2 separate regions of the Homo sapiens genome follow, and region 1 is linked to region 2. The links are contacts of gene promoters, found by promoter capture Hi-C in human tissues and cell types (Jung and others, 2019). All regions are on one chromosome and are shown on one strand. Each heading gives the region's core, a stretch centred on a gene start or on the middle of the fragment in contact. The rest is flanking DNA. Distances are from core to core; before and after follow the strand shown. Region 1 has its middle 8.9 kb from the start of MLPH. Region 2 holds the start of LRRFIP1 (LRR binding FLII interacting protein 1).

What was found. The method cuts DNA at HindIII sites, captures the fragments that hold promoters and counts their contacts. A contact is called where the count stands out against the background at its distance.
Region 1: a fragment that was not itself captured here is called in contact with the fragment with the promoter of LRRFIP1 in region 2 in 4 of the 25 tissues and cell types used here (IMR-90 fibroblasts, adrenal gland, mesendoderm cells and 1 more).

What each region holds. Positions count from the first base shown.
Region 1 is chr2:237,475,867-237,480,873 of GRCh38, forward strand. No RefSeq gene overlaps it. Among named protein-coding and RNA genes, the nearest start is that of MLPH, 8.9 kb to the right of the region's middle. The HindIII fragment of the contact is 6,464 bases long and covers 1-5,007 here.
Region 2 is chr2:237,626,031-237,631,862 of GRCh38, forward strand. LRRFIP1 (LRR binding FLII interacting protein 1) reads left to right here and starts at 1,557. Exons shown (of 24, transcript NM_001137550.2): 1 at 1,557-1,710. The coding sequence starts at 1,615. RefSeq lists enhancers at 4,964-5,463, 5,466-5,832. The HindIII fragment of the contact is 12,440 bases long and covers 1-5,086 here.

The sequences.
Region 1 (5,007 bases), core at 659-3,158, 150 kb before region 2:
CCTAGAGGTGTTGACACACAAACACGCGCGTGCACACAAATCCTCTAAGGTAACCACAACAACAGAACCTATGAGCCATTTGTGAATACGCCGGCACTCGGAAGTGCTGTGGACACACTCCTACTCCACCCCTGACTCACTGCGCCTGCCTCTCAGACAAGGACCCATGCCTCCCTTCAGTCCTCTCTGAAGTGGGGACCGTACTGGCATCTGCCTCATTTAGTAGCTGTGAGGATTAAATGTGGTTGAACCCGTAAACTCGCTTGAACAGCACCTGGCATTGAAAGGATTGTAGCTGGCACCCTCCTCCTCATCTTCCTCATTCAATCAGTTAGGAATGCATTCAGCTGCAAGCTCAGGAAACGCAACCGACAGTTGCCTAGATGTGCAGGTGTGTTTTTCTCCCATAACAAGGAGTTCAGAAGTCGCCTGTCAGCCTGGGAGCACAGCTCAGCGATGCGTCAGGACACTGGGCTTTCTTTCCATCCCCAATCCTCACCATCCTATTGCTGGTCTCCTCCTGGTTGCCAGATACTTGCTGTAGCTGCAGATCTCAGATTCAAGATCCAGGCAGGAAGAAGGGAGAAAGGACAGGAGGTAAAGGGCTTTCTCCTAGTAAGGGTTTCCTGTTTATTCTGGAAGGGACAGGAACCTCTTGCACTTCGATTGTCCAGAAGTGTCCATGCAGGTTATCTTCACTGCAAGGGAGGCTGGAAAATGCCTATTTTTAGTTGAAGTCCTTGCTCCTCTACCTGGAGTTAGGGTTCTGTTAGCATACGAGGGACATGGTTATTGAGTAGACAACTAACGGGACCTGCCAGTGTGCTGTTGCATGGTCTACCTAACCTCCACTCTGGAGACAGAGAAATCAGTGCCCAGTAACGCTGGAAATCTTGCCCAAGGTCACACAGCTAGTGGGTGTGACATCCCAGTCTCCTGATTCTAAGTATTAATGTTCTGTAAATCAATGACTTGACATTGATTGTTGAGGCATTTTTATGGCATTGGTTTTGAAGCACTGATGTTAATTTATGAAGCGTATTTATAATAACTGCTTTAAAATTCTTACCAGATAATTCTACCATCTGATGCATCAAAGTATCAACATCTATTTATTGTCTTTTCTCACTCGGGTGGTTTTTTTCTGGTTCTTGGTATGACAAGTGGGTTTGTATTATATTCTGGTCATTTGGTTATTATGTTCAAACATAATAAAAGATTATTACAAAACATTAAAGAATATCTCCTGTTGTAGATACTGGTTGCAGACATCTCTGACACCCAGTCTAGGCTACATGGGAGATAAAAAGAAAAGTCTAAGGAACCCACCATATTATCTTTCCTCCAGTCCTGAGGTCTCTGGCCAGTCTACCTTCTTCTACCCAACTTTCAGAGTCCTTTTATCATTGTCTGTTAAAGAATTTCCATGGTATTTAGTTTTTAGAAGGGAGGAGTAGGGAAAAGTGAGTCTACTCATTTTGTTTCAGAACCAAAATCCTAAACCCTTTTCAATAGCACATTCCAACCTACCTCTCACGAACTCCCACTAAATACCCCAAATCTACGCCAGCTCCAAGGGATTGTTTGGTCTTCTCAGGGGATGGTGCCATGTAAAGAGCTCAGCATCAGTCAGATATCCAGCAACAGAAGTAGCTAGATCAGGCTTGGTGAGATAGAGCCCACGTAGTCGGACCATATGGCCTCCCTCCTGGTCCCCTGGCATGAACATTGAGGTGACCAAGGACACAGTCTGACTCCATAGGGTAAATGACCCAGTATACCCATTCATTCAGTGTCCTTTTTGTACTAGGTGGCCTCTGGTAAGCATTGACATGAGATAGAAGATTCACATATGGCGCCTATTCCCAAGATCCCTGCACATACCTCTCTGTCTCCAGTCTTTCAACCTTATTCTCTTCCAGTTCCCTGAACAACTAGAGAAGCTTGCATTAATACCTGGACCTGCTACAGAATTTTCTCACGCTCTAAGCGTCACTCAAACCTGCCAGCCTTCCAAATCACTTCCCAAATGGATTGCAGCAGTATTCCCAAGTGAGCCATGTGCTGCCTCCAACATCCAAAGTTCCACCTAGTGCTATGTCTCTGTCCTTGTCATAGCGCCTGCAAAGAGAATAATTTGCCCTATACTTTTGAAGGTATGTCCCAGCAGACTCTACATCTTTAGTCCCCTAAGAACCTAGCCTAAGTTTTATATCCCTGGAACATCATAAGATTGGCCTCCCAATGCACATATGTCTTACCAGAGTATTCAGCATCTTTCTACTCTCCTTTTCACCAGTTCTAATCTGGAAAATATCACCATATGTTGCACCAATGTGCTTAAGGTTCCTGAGGATTATATTGTGACAGTAATCAGAGATTTGATATAGCCCTGGGACAGACAATAGAGAGAAGGTGTACTGTTGTCCTTCCCACGTAAAAGCTGTTTCAGATCTTTTCTGATGACAGCGTGATGGCTCCCCTGACTAATGTCAGCTCAGAATCTGTATCCAATCACCCTCCAAAGTATGACTGTTTCCCTTTCCCCTATGTACAGTTATCCTGGTAAATAACCATGGGCCCTTTGGGGAAAACAATGTATAATATTTATGGTATATATTGTAGTGACACTGTAAAGTCCTTCCTCGAAGGGACCTTGCTTCTCCTTTAGTCGATGGGGTCTAGGTCTATAAAAACTGGTTTAGATATGGAAACTGAATGAGGGATTGTGATTTTTCATTGCAGCATCTGATATCAGCCTTCCGTTCACCAGTCCTTGAATTATCTGTGTGCACAATCAACCAGTACCCTAATTGTCTGCTAATTTCTTGAGCCCCAAGGAATACCATAGTCTACTAGCCATCCCATAGACACTTATGTTTGGTTGCTTTTCTGGATTTTTTACCATTACAGAAATTCTGTCCACCCTACCTCTGATAGTTGAGGATCTCTATCTGAACTCTTCTATTTCAGAATCCCAGCAACCCCCATGACACTACAGAGTGTAGTTCCATGGAGTAACTTCCTACTGTTAATACCAGCTTCAGAGAACAGCCAGTATTGAGTTGCCAAAAGATGCAGACACTCCCCACACTGGTATATTTCTTATTGCTTTGGTGAAGAAAGTGTCCTCTGGGCCCTCCCAGGAAACACAGTCAAATGATAGAGTCTTTGATCTTACATAATAAATCCATTCTCACATTTCTACCTCCCTAAGCCTTCTAAGTTCCTACTCAATACTCTGCCAAGGCAAGCATAACATCTACACCTCATTTACATCATGCCCAAGCTTCGCAGTGCCATCTCAGCAGTGTATTTGAATGATTTCCAAGTATCCTTGCCAAGAAGTCAAATTCTAAGACATAGACAAGTTCCTCCAAATCAACAAACTGAATTCAATATCTCCGTGGCTTATTCAGACACATTTCTCTCTGTCGCTTGGTGACATATATTAGCCAAGACTTGCAGTTATGTTCACTAGATGCTGTTTATTCCTAGAAAAGAAACTTTATTTTCCCACTTGGGCTATACTGGGACCTGGCCCTAGTTATTTGTGTAGAGGAAATAAGAAGAGATGGAGACAGATCTTGAGAAGGACAAGCATCACATTGGAAGTCAACCATCTCAGGTGAAGACTCTGCACAGTATCCAGGTATCAGCATCCTTGGGAAAAGGGAAAGGGCTATTCCCAAGAGGGTTCTTGGGAATCTAGGTGTTCAAGCTTAGACTCATCTATCCAAATGTCCTCCTCCCAGGTTACATGATTCTACCACCCTATCAGTGCCCTGACTTAAGCACAGAAAACATATTCAGGGTGTTCCCTTTGTATTTCTGGTATAGATTTGCAGGATGTCAATACAAAACGCTTAGTTAAATTTGAATTTGAGATAAGCAACAAATAATATTTTAGTGTAAGCAAGTATGCCCCATGCAATATTTAGAACATACTTATACTAAAAGTTATTCCGTGTTTATCTGAAATTCAAATTTAACTGGAAAGCCTACATTTCATCTGGAAACCTTCCTCTTGGCACCCTTACAATCAAATCCTGGCTCTGATTTTCAGCACAGTCTGCACTAAGTTGGCAGGAGATGCGGATTTCTTTAAACACCGCCACAGATGCCTTCTGGCTCTCACAGTATGCCCTGGGGAGATAGACCTGAGCCTGTCATTCCGTTTCCCAAGTATGTGTTTAGTTGTTATGACAGTTTTTAAATAATTTTAAATACCTGAAAATTCTAACCAAGTATTTTCAGAACCTGAAATATGTTTACAAACCCTGCTTCAAAACCAGTGACCTAGCCCAGCAACCTGAGCAGGTAGGATTTGAGCCTGTCTTGAGGGTTAACCTTGGATAACTGTAGGAGAAAATGAGAAGGCACAAAACACAGCCTGACATTGCATTTCCACCCAGAACTGAAGGCACACGTGCTCCCAGGAATAGGTGGACTCATTTGGATTTGTGGGGTCAGAAAGCCATGGAAGATAGGGCTGGAAATTAATTGGGTTTGGAGTTCAGGTGGAGGCAAGCTTGGAAAACTGTAGTTCACAGAAGGGCAAGACTGAGGTGAGTATGGGGAATGGGAAGGTGAAGGTGAGGATTCACGGGTTAGGAATTGGCTCTAGGTATATTACTAGTTGGTAATGGGCTTTGAATCTGGCCATGAGTGAGGGGGAGGCCTAGGGGCGGTGATACTGCTGGATTCCTGCTGCTGGCTCTGGGGTGGTTTCAGCCAAGCCCTGTGCTGACATCAGACCAACCTGAGAGGTGCAGGCGGTAGCAGCTCGAGCGAGAGATCTTGTAACAGCTTTCACTGTGGGGAGGACATTAGCGTTACTGCAAATATTCTGCAACATTCATACAAGAGTTTAACGTGAGATATGAAGTGTGGCTTGTGTGTTGAAACTGAAATTAGGCCATCGCTATGAATTATGGAAGTGGAGAAGAAGCAAAAGGAATTGTTCCTGTAATGCCTAATTCGACCATTGTGACTTGGGAATGGGGT
Region 2 (5,832 bases), core at 307-2,806:
CACAGTCCCCACAGTGCCCCAGGGGCTGGGAAACAGTGAGCAGCCACCAGCAAGACCAAGGCAGTGCAAGTGGCCACGGCTCAAGGTTTCCCCCAAGGAGGACTATGTCACTTAAGGAGTATGGCCTCTGAAGTAATGTAAATATGGCCTGGAAGATTCAGTCAACACCTATTTCCTTAGTGCCTACAATGTGCAGGTGCAGTTTCTGCTCCCGGAGTTCAGTCATGAACAATGCCACAGTCAGCCCTGCCAACCCACCTGCGTCAGCTCAGGCACCCAGAGCAATGTCACCTGGATCTGCCCTCCCTCCCATGTCACTGGACTCGCTGTCTTTTCCCTGCAATGAAACCTCCAACAGCTTTCCCTGCCACTGTGGGTGGAAGGGCCCTCTTCCTCTTCCCACCTTCATACAGCTTCCAGGCCACCTCCTTAAGAATCCAAAGCAATCTGGTCACACCACTTGGTGGGAAATACACCGAAATGTTAACTGTCCTTATCACTGGGGGAAAAAAATCACAGGTGACTTCAGTACAGCCTCCTCTCCTCTACCATCACTACCCTCCCTCCCATCCTTCCCCAGGTCCAGCCACACTGAAGTTCTCCCCATACCCCAAACACACCAGTAACTTTCCCACCCGGTGCTCCTGCCGTGCCCTAGGCAGGGGCTTTTAACCCCTACCTAATCCTCCGATTTGCTTTACTTTTAAATCCACCTCTGGAGCATAGACTGTGAGCTTCAGAGAGCACAGGTAAGTTCATTACTTTTTCAACAACTAGGAGAGAGCTGCGACGCACCTGCCCCGATCCTAGAGGCTGGGGACCCACCAGAGAAGTGACAAGTCCTTGATCTCAGGGGGCAGACAGCGGGGAGAAGGATGGATGCTAGCACGGAGAACACGCGTGTAAAGACAGAAACGCACACATCCACACCATGCCGCTGTGAAGCCGGCGCCCAGGAGGCTGGCCAAGGTCACAGGAGCGGCGGTGGCGGGCGGATCCGAGCACCTCTCGGCCTGACCCCAGAGCCTAGCTCTCACCCCGGCGAGGGACTTCCACCCCGACTCACCGCGGAATGGGGAGCGCCAGGCTGAACCAAATCCTGTGCTCACCCCTCCGTGCAAACCCCTCAAGGCAACTCAGGCCTCTGAAAGCCTTCCTACCCCCCCGCTCTCCGCTCAGGTCCCCACTCAACCGGTGCCCACCGCCCTGGCGCGCGTCGCTCCGCGATTACCGGCCCGCCAAACAGTCCCCGCAAAGTCCACCCTCCGGGGCTCCCGGTCCCTCAGGTCCCGCGTGCCCGGCCCTGGGCATCCGCAGCGTCCCCGTGGTATCGGACCCCCATCGTCCCTGACACCTGGCGTCTCCGCCCCCCGCCCCCGTCCCCCGCCCCGCCGTCCCTGGCCCCTGCAGTCCCTGGCCCGCGCTGCGGACCTCCGGCTCTGGCTTCCCCCGGGTCCCCGCGGCCCCCGTCCCCCCGCGTCCCCGCGTCCCCGGCCCAGCGCCCGCTGACGCCATGACGCCGCGGCGGAGGGAGGGGCCGGGGCCGGGGCCGGGCCGGGGCGGCGCGAGCGGCTGGAGCAACGGGCCCCGCGGCAGCTGCGGGCGACGCGGTCGATGGACATGGGCACCCAGGGATCGGGGCGCAAGCGGCTCCCCAACCGGGAGCGGCTCACGGCGGAGGACGACGCGCTCAACCAGATCGCGCGGGAGGTGAGCGCTCCGGGAGGGCAGCCGGGGGGCGCCGGGCGGGCGCGGGGGCCGGACGGCTGTCAGGGTCTCTCCGGCGTCCGTCTGTCCCGCTGTGCGTCTGTGCCACTGCGCGTCCGGCTCCAGGCGGGTGGGCCGGGCAGGCGCGCGCCGGGGCGCTGATCCCCAGGCGCTGCGCCCCGGCCCCGATCTCCGAGGCCTGCGGACCCCGCACCCGTTCTCCAGCCCCGGGCCCAGCCCGCGACGCTGCGCGCCCTCCCCCACCCCGGCCACCGTCGGCCGCTGCGCCCTCGGGAGAGGAGCCGGGCGCCGCCAGCGCGCGAGGTGGCCCGGGCTGGCCGGGTGGGGGCGAGCGCCCCGCTTTGTTGTGCGGCATGGGAGGAGGCGGGGGCTTAGGCCCGACCTGGAGGCAGTGGACGGTCGCCGGAGGCCACATGGCCCTGCTGAAATGGCCGAGTCGCTCAGGTGACCATTTGTCATCCATCCATCGATGTCACTCAAGGTGCAGCTCAGAGATGAACTTGGGGATCACTGTGATTTTTCTTTCAGGACTGAGCCTGGAAACGGGTCCAGGCACACTGAAACGTCTTCATTAAAGTTTCCTGGACAGAGTTTATTGTAACTAAGATCATGTTTGGTGATGAACTTTACCTGTGACAAATTGAAGGCGCACTAGAATGGGTATTTGTACAAATGCCTTTTTTTTTTTCCTTCCGCAAGGATTCTACCTTAAGGCTAAAGAATGTACATGACATCCAGAAAGCCGTACAGGGACAGAGAGCAGCAGCTTGGGAAAAGGGGAGCCAATAGGTTGCGGCCCCAGGGGGACAAAGGAAGCTTAATTTTTGACTGTGTTCCCTTTGTACCATTTGAACTGTGTGCCAGGTGGGTGTATGAATGCAAAGAAAGTCTCTGCCTTGTAACCCGCCTTACAGGTTCTTTTCCGTGTTGGCTTTTCCACATGTGATTCTTCCCACAGGAAACACCTCCAAGCCATTTGGACTGTGGTGTCTGGCTGTATCCGTCAGATATTCTGGGGGATCTACTCTGTAACCAATCCTTAGGTGTTTGTAGTTGTAAATACCTGATTTTGCTCTTACGGACATGTGGCAGTCACTCAGTATTTGTTGACTACTGAGTGAATAAAGACTTCTGTTTTTCTCTGTATGATACAGAAAAGGGCTTTCCAGGCAAACCCTTATTCATTCCTGGAAGCCCACTGTGACCTCCAGGAGACCTTCCAGACTCAGCCCTCTCACATCGCACCAGGCCTAAGTCTCCCTGGCTCCACGGCCCTCCATGGCATGCCCGCGCCTGGCATGGCAGTCAGGATACCTTATCATTATTTGTCCACCTGTAGAAGGTGACACCCAGACAGGAAATATCTTACTTTTGTATCCCAAGAGCTCAGCACAGAGCCAGGCACATACTAGGTGTTTGTCTATGTCTGTTACATTAATTAATAAACAAAAGAAGTACAAGGCATTTAAAGGACCTTTGGCTAAATATAGACATTTGCTAAATATAGTAGCTTGAGTATAACTCCCTCCTGTGAAGACAGTCACTTATGTATGCATTTGACCACAGTGCCTTACAAGTGTTCCCTGCAAGGGCCAGAGGTGGCCAGTGAATCGCAAGCCTTGTCTTGATGTCAGTGGTTATGGGGCAGAAGAATGAGAAGAATGAAAATTTCCAGAGTTTGCCTTTTATCCACTGGTGTTTCTTTCTTCTTTTTTTTTTTTTTTTTTTTTTTTAACACAGTCTCACTCTGTTGCCCAGGCTGGAGTACAGTGGTATGATCTCGGCTCACTGCAACCTCCACCTCCCAGGCTCAAGAGATCCTCCTGCCTCAGCCTCACCAGTAGCTGGGATTACAGGCACGCACCACCACACCCGGCTAATTTTTGTATTTTTAATAGAGACGGGGTTTCACCGTGTTGGCCAGGCTGGTCTCAAACTCCTGGCCTCAAGTGATCTTCCCGCCTTGGCCTCTCAAAGTGCTGGGATTACAGGCGTAAGCCACTGCGCCCAGCCTATCTGCTGGTTTTTATAAAATAGATTGAAAAGGAAGGCAAGGGAACACTCCTTGGGTTGAGAGCCCTGAGGTCCTCCCTCCCACCGAGGGAGATGCAGTTGGAGTTACAGAGATAGACTTGTGAGTCAGAGCTGGGCTTTCAAATGACATAGTTCTTAGCCAGCTGTGCCATCCTAGGAAGGTGAGTTACTCACTCTTCTCTGGGCCTCTGTTTTCTCGTCTCTAAAATGGAGAAGAAGAAACCTCCCCTGGCTGTCAGAATTAAAGAAAGTGGGTAGCAATGTAAAGTATGTAACTAGGCGGTGGGTAAATATGAGAGCTTCTTACACGCCCCTCCCGGTAAAACCCAGCCGTAGGTGCAGCTGTTACTAGTGCTGAGTAGCACAGATTGATAGGGTTGGAGGGAGCAGGTGTGACATCTTATGTTTTAGTACAAATTAACTTCTATTTCTCAACTGTGAAAATGAAAATCACTATTCAAATGGCAAATATCTACTCCTTGAATTCATCAGGGTTCTTATAGAAATCAACAAAATCGTCTTGGGTTCAGTACTTTCTTATTCACTCATTGACTCAACAGATACAAGCCATGGTATCCAAATTCCTGTCCTGGGGAGACTGGAGAGTCAGGGAGGAACCCGGCGAGGACCTGCCTGCCCTCCAGGAGTTGGGTCAGAAAGGGGTTGACACCTGTAGATCAATAATGCTAACCGAAGACAGGAAGGGATCTGATATAAAAAGGGCGTAGACAGTGTTCTGAAGGTTTGGACATGAGAGAGAATCACAGCCGGCCAGTGGTCTCAGAAGTGGCTTCCTGGAGGAAGTGGCATTTTGAGTTCTTGAAGGCTGTATGTACCAGTCAAGATGCTTTGGCTGCTGGGACAGAAACCCTGACTGGACTGACATTGACAAGGGGAAGTATATTGGCTGGAGCACAGCAAGCCCGGAGGCAGGGCAGGATTCCCCGCCAGCCTCACCAGTGGCTCCGGCCTCTTTTTCCCACAGCACCTGCGCAGCTGGTTGGGCTGGGCCATCCTCTGTGGGTGGCCTCATCCTCAGGCTGACTTGCTTCATGGAGGCCAGCTGGCCTTGGCTTTCCCGGGCTGCCACTGTGGAGCCCACACACCGTCTCTTCTGGTGGCTCTCTCCAGAGAGCTAGCAGTATCTCCCTGGTAAACTTTCATGAGTCTGTCTGGCCACTCCTGCACCAAGCTCTTTGACAAGGACCATGGACTTAGGGGCTCAGTGCCTGTGGCAAAGGGGGGTGGGTCTACCCTGTGACCTGTCAGACTCATCCTGGGACTGGGGAGAGCCGGCCTCCCTGAAACACTTGGGAAGGTGGGGGCCTGAATGGAAACTGGGGAGGCTTCAAGGAAGTGGGAGGGAGTGGGCTGCCACTTGGGCCTGGCACCCAAGAACATGCCTTCTGGAGAGTAAGTGGAAAATTCTGGGCTGAGGTCATTGGGAAGCCTGAGTCACCTGGCAGGGACGTGGGTTCCAGTTCGCTGGAGCGAGGGGAAGAGCTAGGCTGCCCTGTGCAGGCAGGGCTTTGCACTCTTCTGGGTAGAAGCAGGACTCGTGGTGGGGGCAGCCTTTGGAGGGTGCATTTCTGCTTCTGCAGCCGGTGTCCTGCTTCCATGTGATGGTTTAAACTCTAGGCAAGCGTGTATAGTAAAGGGAGTTATTTGCAAATGCTGTATTATCGCAAGTCAATTATTTCTCACTCTCTTGTTGCAGTGGAATTCAGGCGGGATGTTATCAGGAGAAAGGTTTAGTACGCACTTGCAGAAGCTCATTAGCACCAAAGGCATGAGCTGCGCCTCCCACTTCTGGGGAGGGGTGTTTCCAACGCAGATAGATTTTCCTCTCCTACCGCATTTCACATTCTACTGGTGCATTTTGGTAGCATCCCAAACTTCTCATTCAGCACTCTGCAGCTGAGTAAAGCGATACTGGTCTCACCATGCAATTCAAAGTATTGCTCTCAAATGAAGAATGTTTTTCCCAACAGGAACAGTCATTTGCGCAGGCTGCATTAGGAACTCACCGTGGGGCCTTGAGACAGTGCGGTGAGCTTATTATCCCCTGGT